2 separate regions of the Homo sapiens genome follow, and region 2 is linked to region 1. Evidence: promoter capture Hi-C in 16 types of primary human blood cells and fetal thymus (Javierre and others, 2016). All regions are on one chromosome and are shown on one strand. The core of a region is centred on a gene start or on the middle of the fragment in contact, and the rest is flanking DNA. Distances in the headings are between cores, read along the strand shown.

Region 1 (6,047 bases), core at 2,188-4,687:
AGAGCCTAAATTCTAATACATTTTATTAATTTATACTAATCTTCATATTTACTGTTCTCTAAAATAATTATGAGAAGCAAATAAAATCAAAAGTCATGTTTAAAGACGTGTTTTTAAAATTCCACTATCCCTTTTCTAAAGGTTAAAGGTCTGAAGCAGCTGTTTAGATTCACTGTAAGTAAACTTTGGTAACTCTAATGGGGATAGACCCACTTAAGATATTTAAAAAGGTATGGCATCAGCGTTTCATGCTCTGCCTTTTAGCTTCTAAAAGGAAAGATGCAGATTTCTAGTGCATTAAGCCTGAGCCATATTCTCACATGCAAGTGAAGTCATTAAAGAACTTTACATATGTGAGATAGAAACAATGGTTCCTTAGTTTTGCACTGGGAAGAAAATATTTTGTAAAAGAATGTTTATTTGAAATAATGATAACTATCAATTGTTCACAATGTGGTGGAAATTAAAACACCATCTCAGCTTTAACTTTTAAATAATAATGATAACTATCTTTATTGAGCATCTTCTACATCCTAGGCATTGTCCTAGGCATTGCATGTTTATATCCCCAATTCTCACCACAACCCTGCAAGTAGGTGGTATTATCCAAGTTTTACCCATTAAGAAACTGAAGATCAGAGAAGTTAAGAAACTTGCTCAACATCATATAGTAAGTAGCAGAGTTGGGATTGGAATTCAGGCATGACTCAAACCTGGATGTACTTGATTCCAAATGCCATGTTGTTTTCACTCTCTGCACTGACTTTTTAATTATTTAAAACTCTAGAAAGATGAACAAAGGTTAATTTAAACTTACCTAAGAAGATGAGAATCAAACAAAACAGATATGCTTACTCTAGTTAAAAAGAAAATAAATCTCATGTCAGACCCAGAAAGGACCAATCACTGTCCGATTGTAAGCTATGTTGGGCCAATTCCAAAATATTATACGATGGAGAGGTCAAATTTACCTACTTCTGAGTTACCTCAGTTTCCCAACAATGGACCTTGGCACACTGGAGTAACAATACATAACAGAGTTGCCAAGATATTTATACCCTCAGCACTCGGGGCAACACAGTGGAAAGTGGGGAGGCCATAGACCCAAACAAGTTCTTTGGGCCAGGCATGGCCTAGTAAGTACACCATGCCTCGAAAATAAGTCCAGAAGCACTGGACTAAAGAGTGCTAATGCAGGAAATAATACACATAATTTTTAGGTAAGGATAATAATTTATCTCTGCTCCTAATATTACTATCCCATTGTAATTATTTATAACCCTCAAGCCAGTTGATTTTTAATATATTTGATTGGAAAAGAACTCTCTGGTATTATTAAGACTCACACAGAATCAGGGACAGGGCCCCCAAAGGAGTTTGCTGTAAAATAGGCAGTAGAGTTGTGGCATGGGCCCAACCCTGCATTCAAGTGTAACAGCATTCTGTCAGGGTCACTTTGAATTGTGCACATAAGAAAACCAATACAAAAAACAATTTGTATTCAATATTGTCACATTTCTCTCTGGTAGAAAAATCAAATACCTTAGAGATTATGAAGTCATTAATTTATACTGAAATTGGATTGACTTACTACCTAACACTGAGCGCTGTTTTTAAATGAAAAGAATGAGATTTATAACCACTTGAGTGTTATTGCAGTGATATTTGAACTCATTTGAATATATTCAGTATCATTTAATGTCTGAATTCAGAAAAAAATGCCGAAATTTTTATTCAGATGGTCCATAAATTAAATTGCATATTCATTACTTATCTGCTCTATTTAGATTTATTTTAAAAGTTTATTTAAGTAAATATTTTTATAAAAACCAGAAAACACTGTATTACAAAATATTATTTATTAAATGTAGTTCAGGAAATAATCTATTTTTACTCTTTTTTGGGAAATACTTGTGTTTTTGATACATCTCCATGAAGTTCTTTTGAGAGGAGAGGCTATTTTGATGTTTTTATACAACTGAAGGTTAACAGCCATAGCATTTTATGATACTTTACAGGTAGTCCTGGCTTTTTCCCTGAAACATAAGCTTGGAAAATCTATTAGAAAGCAGAACAGGGCAAACTCTCCATTTTACTTATGGCTTTTCTAATTTTTAATTAATTAATTTATTTTTTTGAGACAGAGTCTTGTTCTGTCGCCAGGCTGGAGTGCAGTGGCACAATCTCGGCTCTCGGCTCACTGCAACCTCTGCCTCCCAGGTTCAAGCGATTCTCCTGCCTCAGCCTCCCGAGTACCTGGGACTACAGGCATGTGCCACAGTTCCCGGCTAATTTTTGTATTTTTAGTAGAGACGGGGTTTCACCATGTTGGCCAGGATGGTCTCAATCTCTTGACCTCGTGATCTGCCTGCCTTGGCCTCCCAAAGTGCTGGGATTACAGGTGTGAGCCACCACGCCTGGCCGGCTTATTTTTATCCACAGTAAATCTTCAGCAACTCATTGTCTCCACCAGATAGTATTTTTCTGTAAATGAAATGCTGACTTCGCCTCTTCCTGCTGTATGCTCATCCCTGCACTGAGCACAGATATGACAAGCAGTAGCCATGGGGGAGGTGGGTGACAAAGATAGGACCCCGGGAGGGGGCGCAGGTACATGCTAGTTTCAATTACCACAGTATTCTAGAGACGGGTTGCAATGACAAGGGGGGCAAATGAAATCAATGCAAGATTTCTTAATAATGGGCAGACAGAAAAATGTAAAACCACACAAAACGGACTGCTGATAATATTTTAAAATATACTTATTTGTCTTCTTTTTGCATTGTGAAAAAAACAAAATAAATTTTGTGTGATAATTTTGATGATGAAAGGTGGAAGTTCTACCTAGATTTGAATGAGTGTTTTTTTAAGGGAATGAGAATGTCATGGTGCTAAACCTGACAAATAAGAGATCATTGAAATGCTGAAAATTTTAACAGTCTTCTTAAAAGTATTGAGGGGGCAAAAATTACCAATTATGGTATACAAAAATAAGCCTATAAATGTGTTTCACATTGCTAACTTGAGTTTCAGTTGATTCAGTTTGTAATAACTAGTAATGAGCTTCTGTTTACAATAAAAATTCTGTAAATTGTTTGCTGTTAATTTTTTAAGGGTTATATATTAACTGTTTTCTACTTAGTCATGCGAACGTGATGAATTTAAATATGGCTTGAGAATGGGACGCTGTCAGTATTTATGTAATCTCTCTGGACTCCTAGAACTCAAAGTTAGAAAGTTGTACATTCCAAGTTTTGAATGCCCTCCTCTCTGTGCATTGCAGAAGGCCTCTCTCCAGTGGTGCTTCCCTGGTGTCCTAGGGGAAAGTGCACACTGTCACCATGGCAGGAGGCCAAAGCCGGAGATGAAAGGGTGAGGGCTGGCCACTGGGCAGCCTTGATGGCAGGTTGGGTGGAGCCTCAAAGGTTCAGGTCTTAAATCCCTACCTGGCTTGATCCAGATATCCACCCATTTGATAACCACTTAGGATACGAAGGTATGTCTTAGAGGCATTATTACTTTCCAGGTCTTGTCCTTACCCGAAATAGCCTCTGTTGCTTTTTTCCTTCAGTTTTGCCACCCTTTCTTTTATGTATAAATGAACTCTTCATTTCCTTTCTATAATACTTTGTTTTTTTGTGCTGCCTTCTTCCTATCTTTCACTTGCTGACTCACAAATGTACACACCCAGTATTTCTAACTGCTTCCTCCTACTTCAGCTTGACTATTTCCATTTTGAAATTTACATTTTGCCTAATTGTTTCCAGTTTTCTAAGCAACTTTTTCTGGAGTTCTGAGTGGTTCCTTACCTAATACATATAAATTTATAAATAGTATGATTTTTTTAACAAATTAATACCTTTCACTTTAAGATATAAGATTCCTTGTCTAGCTGTTTTGAACTCAAACCTAACATGTATAAATCTCTTCAGCTTAAAAAGAACCAGGGCAATTTTAATTCATGTCCCCTTAAGAAAAAGTATTTTTCAACCATGTCTTTCTCTTCAGCACTACAAAGTAATGTACCTGTGAATGGTGACTATATTTTTTTGTTGCTGATTTTGTTACATTAGCTTGGTGCACCATTGTATATATAATGATCTCAGCTTTGAACGTAGAAAAAATATCTTTGTTCCTGGGCAAATCAATTCAATTTCTAGTATTGCATAAGAAGCACACTGTAAAAATAAATCACTCCTCCATGCTGTAGGCTACCTTTGCTGTTCATGGCCATGTGTACCTGAATTTAAATGCCCTTGAAAATATGGGAGGATTGACCTTGTATGAAACAAAAGTTTTAAAGTTACATTGTAAATTTCATTCACTTCACTCCATGCATTCATTTACACACAAACAACATAACCCAGTGACAGACTGCAGACTATTAAAAATGTAAAACATTGGATAGATAGATAGATAGATAATGTTCCTTTTTTTTTTGGGAGTTCAGAACAGATACAAAGCAAAACAATAGCAACGCTGAATGTTACTAATGTGTATCAATTCCTTCAGTGTTTACTGAAAGATTTCTGTAAGAATAAAGACAAATTTGGAGGCTAAAGCAGGAAAAATGACCAGGCCATAAGATGTGAGATGAATCTGGAAGGATACACAAGACTGTGGCTGGCCGGGTGTGGTGGCTCACGCCTGTAATCCCAGCACTTTGGGAGGCCAAGGTGGGCGGGTCACCTGAGGTCAGGAGTTCGAGACCAGCCTGACCAACATGGAGAAACCTCATCTCTACTAAAAATACAAATTAGTGAGTTGTAGTGGCACATGCCTGTAATCCCAGCTACTCGGGAGGCTGAGGCAGGAGAATTGCTTGAACCCGGGAGGCGGAGGTTGTGGTGAGCTGACATGGCGCTCTTGCACTCCAGCCTGGGTAACAAGAGCGAAACTCCATCTTAAGACTGTGGCTAAGAGGAAAAGGCATTGAACTTGGAACTGGGAATGAACTGAAAGTGAATTTCAGTATGCGATATGCATAGATCATTCTTTGCAGAAGCCACATCTTGTAGTGGCTCCACATGAACTTATCAAGCTAGGTCATTAAGTTTACCTAGATAACACAGGCTTTGAATACCAACCTGAGGGATTTGGACTATAGGCAATAAGGAGCCCTTTGAGGATTTCAAATGAAGGAATAATATAGGAAATACGTTATTGTAGGAAAATAATCCTTTGGAGTCACCTAGGATGGATCACAAAGAAGGAAAGTCAAGAGGCAGAGGCAAGAAAGTCAGTTAAGCCATTTTAGTATTTCAGACTGCAGTGATGAAAACTAAACTGAGTGCCATTAGAACAGAAAGGAAGGGACAATTTCTTGGAAACTCATATACTCAATAATGTGATTATTTGTACACACAGTGGCTTTTAAGTGGAATTTAGTTTAAAACAAATCACAAAAATTACCCATTTTTAAACTTATTTTTGTGATACATTCAGCCATTGTAATTTGTACACACTTCTTTTTAAAAACTTTGAATTTTTTCTCAAAAATGTTTGGTACAAAAGATACTCAATGTTTCTGTATCGTATTACATCTTCATGGCTTGGAGCCAGAACATGTATTTGATAACACATTATGTTGTATGTATCTAAATGATTTCATAATGATTTGAAAAGTCACACAAGCCACACAGCAAAACTTGTATTTCTTCTAGTCATGAAAAGTAAGAGCCTCTTTTGTGAGTTAAACTTTTTACTCATAGAGTTATGGAGGGTCACGGTTTAGTGTAACTGGTTGTCATTTATGTAATAAACTACATGGTTGATTACTATGTTGTAGATAAGCATAATAGACTTTGCTCTGTATTAATGGCCTGCAAAGAAACAGGGAAGTCTTTAATCTTGGTAAGGTTTCATTCATCCCAAAGCACACTGTGGAGTGAAAACTACTGGAAAAGCAGATGCAGAGGTGAGGCCTAACTGAATATGTATTTTCTGAAAAATCAGGGGAGTCCTTTCTTTAAAATGTGACATAAATGTAATTTTATACTATGGCTATTTCATTTTGGTAGCTACATTTTCATGCCCCAGTAAGAAAT
Region 2 (6,047 bases), core at 1,544-4,043, 160 kb after region 1:
GGCAGGACTAAAAGAGCTGTAACACAAACAGGGCTGAAACGCACCCCTTGCCACTTGCCACGTTGTGGGCGGTGAAGAGAGAAGAGCTGCAGCCCTTTGAGGAGCCTAGACCTATGGGCTCCTTGAGCCAGGGCTGTGACACCCTCTTTGGGGTTCTGTGGTTCCTGGTGTCTCCAAGCTTCCGGGCGCCACCTTGTTCCCCTCATCCAGGTGCAGGTGCCCACAGTGGAAGCCACATGCAGTACATCTGGTCCAGCTGCAGCCTCGCACAGAGCTGGTGCCTGTACTGGCGCCTGTGCTGGCACCTGGAGCTACTTGCCCCACTGCAGCAGCCAGCATGCCTGGCTGTGTGCAGTGATTGGAGCGGGTGCTTGCTCACCCACACACCGTGTGCTGCTCCATGTCTAACTCACACTTGGCAGGTGTGGGATCCAGGCCAGTAGTGAGAACTGAGTGCAGCCTGCCTGGCCAAGTGGGTGGAAGGAGCCCAGCAGACACAGGCAATACTCAGGCAGAAGGTGCCACCAGCCACAGAAGTTTCCGGCTGGCAAAGCAACACCCCAAGAATCCCATGAAAAGTACTCCCAGTATTGGACGTATCCACTGTAACCAAGGCAAAAGTGGAGGCATGAGTCCAAGTATACTTTCGTTTAACTGAATTTCAAGTGCCACACTTTGGGTTAAATATTTACATGCAAAATTACTATAGTAACAATACTTATCTAATTCAAAAGTTCAGAACTACTAAAACTGGTCCAAAAGTTATATTCCTGCATTATTAGTGGTGGCTAAAAGTTAAACATATAAGCATAAGTGTACATAAATCAACAGGAGGCTGAAGGAACGTATTATAAAATACCCATGGATTAGAAAATTACAGTCATTAAAAAAGAAAGCAGATGCTTTATAAATGTGTTAATATGAAAAGATCTCAAGGATATACTGAGTGGAAAAGTGGCAAATATAAATGTACACTTGTATTTAAGGAAAAAATACATCATCATCATCATCATCATCATCATCATCACCATAATTTGGTTAACAAACAGAAGAGTTACCTCTGGAAAGTCAAACGTGGACTACTAGTGGGGGATGGAACCTAGGGGTGATAAACTGGGACAGAAATCTTCACTTTTTGTTTTATATTTTTTCAATACTTCTTTCAAAACTATGCGAATATACTGCTTTTAAAATTATTAAATAAATTGTTTTTGACTGTCCTTGAGTTGATCTATATTTGCTGATATGGAATGATCAGGTGAAGGGACCCTTAGTACCCCTGAACTCCTAGAACACTCCTAGCGCATTCTCTGCCTCTCTGTCTCACTCCTTTCCCTGGAAGAAGGAGTGCCTGATCTAAGTGCTGAGAGACTGAACTGAGCAGAGAGCCTGAAATGAGCAGAAAGCCCAACCCCTCTGAACTCCCTTTCAGATCTGCCTGCAGTGGAGCAAGCTGAAAGAGTATGAACACTTCCACTGTCATAGTGCAGGGTGTAAAGGGTCAGCAGGTATGCTGGCTTGTGCTTATCTAGTTGTGACAGTGATTCAGGTGAAATGCTGAAAGTCCTGTGCATTCTTGCTGCACATCTAAGTTGTGTTTTCCAAAAACACTGTTACTTCAGTCTCCATCTTACACCTAATTTTCAATTGATTCTGAACCAATTTAGAGAAGGTGGGGACAGTCTTAAATCTCAACAGCCCCCAAAATGCACCATTAAATGAAAAAGAAAAACACACTATAACACGTACAGTATGATATCACCAATGCTAAATTAAAAACCACGACTATAAACATATATGCATGCATACAAATGTGAGAAGGGATCCTGCACCCTCTCATTCCCTCCTTCGCTCACCTTCTCGTTCTGCCATGCCCTTCTCTAAAGAGATACCTGCCATTTCCCCCAGCAAGCTCTCTGGTCTGTGGAGGAGGTCAGCATGCAGCTCTGCCTTGCCCAGCTCTCCAAGCATACCACGGCCTGACCTGAGGGTCTGTACAGGCTGCAGGCTATGACCTGTACAGTGCCTAAGATGATACAATACCACCTATGGAGAAAGCTCTTGTGAACAGACATTTAGATAGAGCTCCTCCTTCCAGGTGTTGTGGAAGAGTAGCTCCACGCTGGCTTGGCTGCAAAACACTTTATAGATGTAGGAGGTGGTATCATAAAGGAAGATTACAGAGGAAATGCTGGTGCTGTACTGTTTTATTTTGGCAAAGAAAAGTCTGAAGTCAAAAAAGGTGATTGAACTGCAGTTCATTTGTGAACAAATCTTTATCCAGAAATAGAAGTTCAAAGCTTTGGATGACACTGAAAGAGGTTCAGGAGGTTTGGGTTCCACTGGAAAGAATTAAAACTTATGCTAAGAATAGAAAATGAGAAATCATACCTTTTTCTTAAAGAGTTTTTGCTTTGAAAAAAAAGTCTGAAAGAACCAATGTTAAACCATGTGCTGGCAGAAAGTGACAGCTGTCACTTTTCACTCTATTTAGTCATCTAAAGAGACGTCTAAATAGTTGTCTAAAAGACGACTGTAACTTTCCACTCTATTTACTTTTGTGCTATTCAAAATTCCCCAACAAGCACTGCTATGGCCTGAAAGTTTGTGCCCCTCCAAAATTTACATGCTGAAAGCTAATCCCCAGACTGCTGGTAGTAAGAGGTAGAGTTGGGAGGCAATTAGGTCAGGGAGGTAGAGCCCTCATTAATGGAATTAGTGCCCTTATAAAAGAGGCCTGAGGGAGCTGCCTGCCCCTTCTGCCATGTTAAGATGCAGTGAGCAAGAGGCACCATCAGTGAGGAACAGACCCTCACCAGACCCAGGATCTGCTGGTGCCTTCACCTTAAACTTACCAGTCTCCAGAACCATGAACAATCAAGTTCTATTGTTTATAAACTACTCAGTTTAAGGTATTTTTGTTACAGCAGCCCAGACTAAGACAAATTTCAATTCGTCTATTACTATGGCCATTTTCAAAAACTTTAAAATGTGTTTAAATAATTTTTGCTAGGATTTTAGTAACCATAGATCAAATGCAAGTTTCTGGACTTGATGATTACTAACAGTTGAGAGAAGTGGTTCTCAAAGAGTGGTCTCCAGACCAGCTCCATCAGCATCACATAGGAGCAAACTCTGGGGCCCCACCCCAAGTCTACAGAACCAGAAACTCTGGGGTGGAACCTAACATCTGTACTTTAAACAAGGCCTTCCCTCAGGTGATCATAATGCCAGCTAAACTCTGAGAACCACAGGGTTAGAGGATAACTTATACTAATCAAGCTTCAATTTTCTGATTTCTAAATCTTCAGTAACTATGAACACATACACACACACCATATTAAATCATTTTTCAGCTGAATTTCTCAAATATTTGTGGAATACCTTTCAAATTGCATTACTGTAGCACCTTTTTAATATAAATGAAAATACTGCAGTAGAGAAAACAAGGTATCTTGAAACTATGAGAATCCCGAGCCTCTTTAAAGGCATTAAAAAGTGCTTCCAGAAGAGATTTCCTACTGGGAAGAAGCTATAACATGGCTGCCTTCATTACTCCCTGAAAAACAACCTCAGCCAAGGAACAATTTGTTAATGGAGTACATTATGACAACATAGCGCATTCATAGCTAGTATTTCTCTTTCCTAATATTAAGAAGCTATTTAAAATTAAGTAGTGTTAGCATTTACAGATACCTGTTTGGTGATCGTCTTGGCCAATGTCTTCTGTTAGGTTCTGAAAGAAATATGTTCGTTATTACGAAGAAATCACATACCGTTAGCATTTTCATAAACAACTGATATCCTAATATCTAGAATCTAAATTTTTATCAAATACACTTATACAAAATGACTACTTCAAACAGTTGGTAATTTTGTCTTTAAAAGAATGACTTACCAGCTTATTAAGGGTGTGGTAGATCTTATGAATATTTGCCAGTGTTGAGAGATGAGAGTTCAGCTGAAAATCTTGAAAAGAAAAAGGAAAAATGTCAGCGTCATTTATTTCCAATATTGTAAAAAAACAAACTCAGAAAATAAACAAATGTTTTGATATAATTAAATACTATCTCAATTAATTTGACACTAAAGTTTTTTAAAAACATGCAATTAGTGACCTCCTAGAAATAGTCTGACAATAAAGTTAAATTCCCAACCAAATGTTAAAGTTCATGAAATTTTCATGTGAATTCTAAGGTAAAACAAAAAGTACTTCAGTAGTTATAAAATCCTGCCAGCAGTGAACTTGAACTTAATAGAAAGATAAGTCTCAAATGAAATGTTCACTTTCCCCTCTCTTCCCTAGAATTACTGGTACAATTAAGTAAGCTCATGGCAAGAAAATGATAGAAAAGCATCCCAACATTAGTATTTATTTTTTCTTTTCCTTTTTTTGAGACAGGATCTCACTACGTTGCCCAGGCTGAAGTGCAGTGGTGCAATCATGGTTCACTGCAGCCTCAGACTCCCAGGCTCAAGTGATCTGCCTGAGCCTGCATGGTAGCTGGGACTACTAGTGTGCACCATCATGCACAGCTAATTTTTCTTTTTTTTTTTCTTGTAGAGACAGGGTCTTTCTATGTTTCCCAGGCTGGTCTTGAACTCCTGGGTTCAAGTGATCCTCCTGCCTCAGCCTCCCAAAATGTTGGGATTAAAGGTGTGGGCCACTACGCGCAGCCTCAACTTGAAGTAAAGTATGTTTGCATATATATTAGGCAATAAAAATGTAAGCTGAAAGTTTATTAATAATTTCATATATAAGTACCACTGGAAGTATTTTCACAAAATATCAGGATTTACATTAGTTCCTTCTTTCCTATTAAAGGTTAGTATGAAAATGACCATGAAAAGATATTGTAACTCTCCAAGTTATACCATTCTGACAAAAAGAAAGAAAGAAAAAAAGCTCCCTTTACTGAAACATTTTATTTAGGACACGTATCAGATCCAAAGAACAGATCCAAAGAGCAGGTGCTACAATATCAGGTGTCTGTGCTTGGGCTGGATCCTCTGTGCTGCTACTCTGAACCCTGAAAACAAGCTGGCCTCCCTGTTCACAGTTAGAAAGCTTTACTTTCTCTTCTAAAGCTTGTTGGGCATCCAGTTCTGAGTAGGTCTGCAGGGCAGAGGGGCTGGCAGAAGCAGAGCCCCTCACATTCACATGCAGTGTCAGGAACAGCAGGTCATACCTGTATACATACATGTGCATATGCACTGTTCACAGTCATAGCCATATAGAATGGTCCCCAAAACCAGCATTTTGTGCTGAGAGACAGCCAGAGCAGGGCCTCAAGCTCTAAATGGCCCTCCAATATAGACATGCTTGAATTGCTTAGCATCTGAATAGCCCAGCCATGCTTAAGGTAAATGATGACATAAAGTGGCTGAGAATCTGGATTTTTCATCTAAATACGACTGCACAGAGGTTTAGAAAAGTATGTGTATTATACACCTATTTATTTACATTTATATTTATTAAACGTGAACAGGGGTAGAAGCTAGAAGCTACAGCCCTCTCACCAGCAAGAGGCCTCTCAGGACCAGCAAGAGGTGCTGAGGAGCTTGAACATTCAACTCTTGCACCTCCACCCCATCCACTACCAAGCCATAGCCCCCTTTTTGTACTCTCTCAGATTAAATATAGGAAGACAAATGATACATTCCATTATCACCTTAAAATATGAAGTTAAACTCTTGGGCCCCCAAAAAAACAAAAAGCAAAAACTGAGAAAACTTTAGCCTCTTGATTCTCTTTTCACTGAGGGTAAGGGAGGGGAGAGAAAAAGGGGCTTGCCAAAAGCCATTCCAGCAATGAGGTCTCTTCTAACTCTCCAGGCTATGCTTTTGTCATTTCACCACCCTGCTGTTAATTAAACTCCCAAAATTCCCATAAGAGAATCTAAATAAACCAAAACTGTTATATCTTTCTCCCTCCTTTATATAAATGTGGAAGAAGTAGAAAAGACAAGAAACACAAGTTATCCTCAATCTGGAATTCCAGGACTTCGGTGAGCTGGGCCCAACTCATACTCCAAACATCTTTCACC

Evidence for each region. Contacts are between HindIII fragments. The CHiCAGO score rates a contact against its expected background, and 5 or more counts as called.
Region 2: a contact is called between a fragment that was not itself captured here and the fragment with the promoter of LRRC66 in region 1, in 2 of 17 cell types (monocytes and endothelial precursors). The highest score is 6.6, in monocytes.

What each region holds. Positions count from the first base shown.
Region 1 is chr4:52,017,753-52,023,799 of GRCh38, reverse strand. LRRC66 (leucine rich repeat containing 66) reads left to right here and starts at 3,437. Exons shown (of 5, transcript NM_001024611.3): 1 at 3,437-3,496. SGCB (sarcoglycan beta) reads left to right here. Exons shown (of 6, transcript NM_000232.5): 6 at 1-3,094. The HindIII fragment of the contact is 6,788 bases long and covers 2,051-6,047 here.
Region 2 is chr4:51,861,359-51,867,405 of GRCh38, reverse strand. DCUN1D4 (defective in cullin neddylation 1 domain containing 4) reads right to left here. Exons shown (of 11, transcript NM_001040402.3): 2 at 3,899-3,969; 3 at 3,697-3,736. It also overlaps the pseudogene DUTP7. Among named protein-coding and RNA genes, the nearest start is that of DCUN1D4, 21 kb to the right of the region's middle. The HindIII fragment of the contact is 982 bases long and covers 2,303-3,284 here.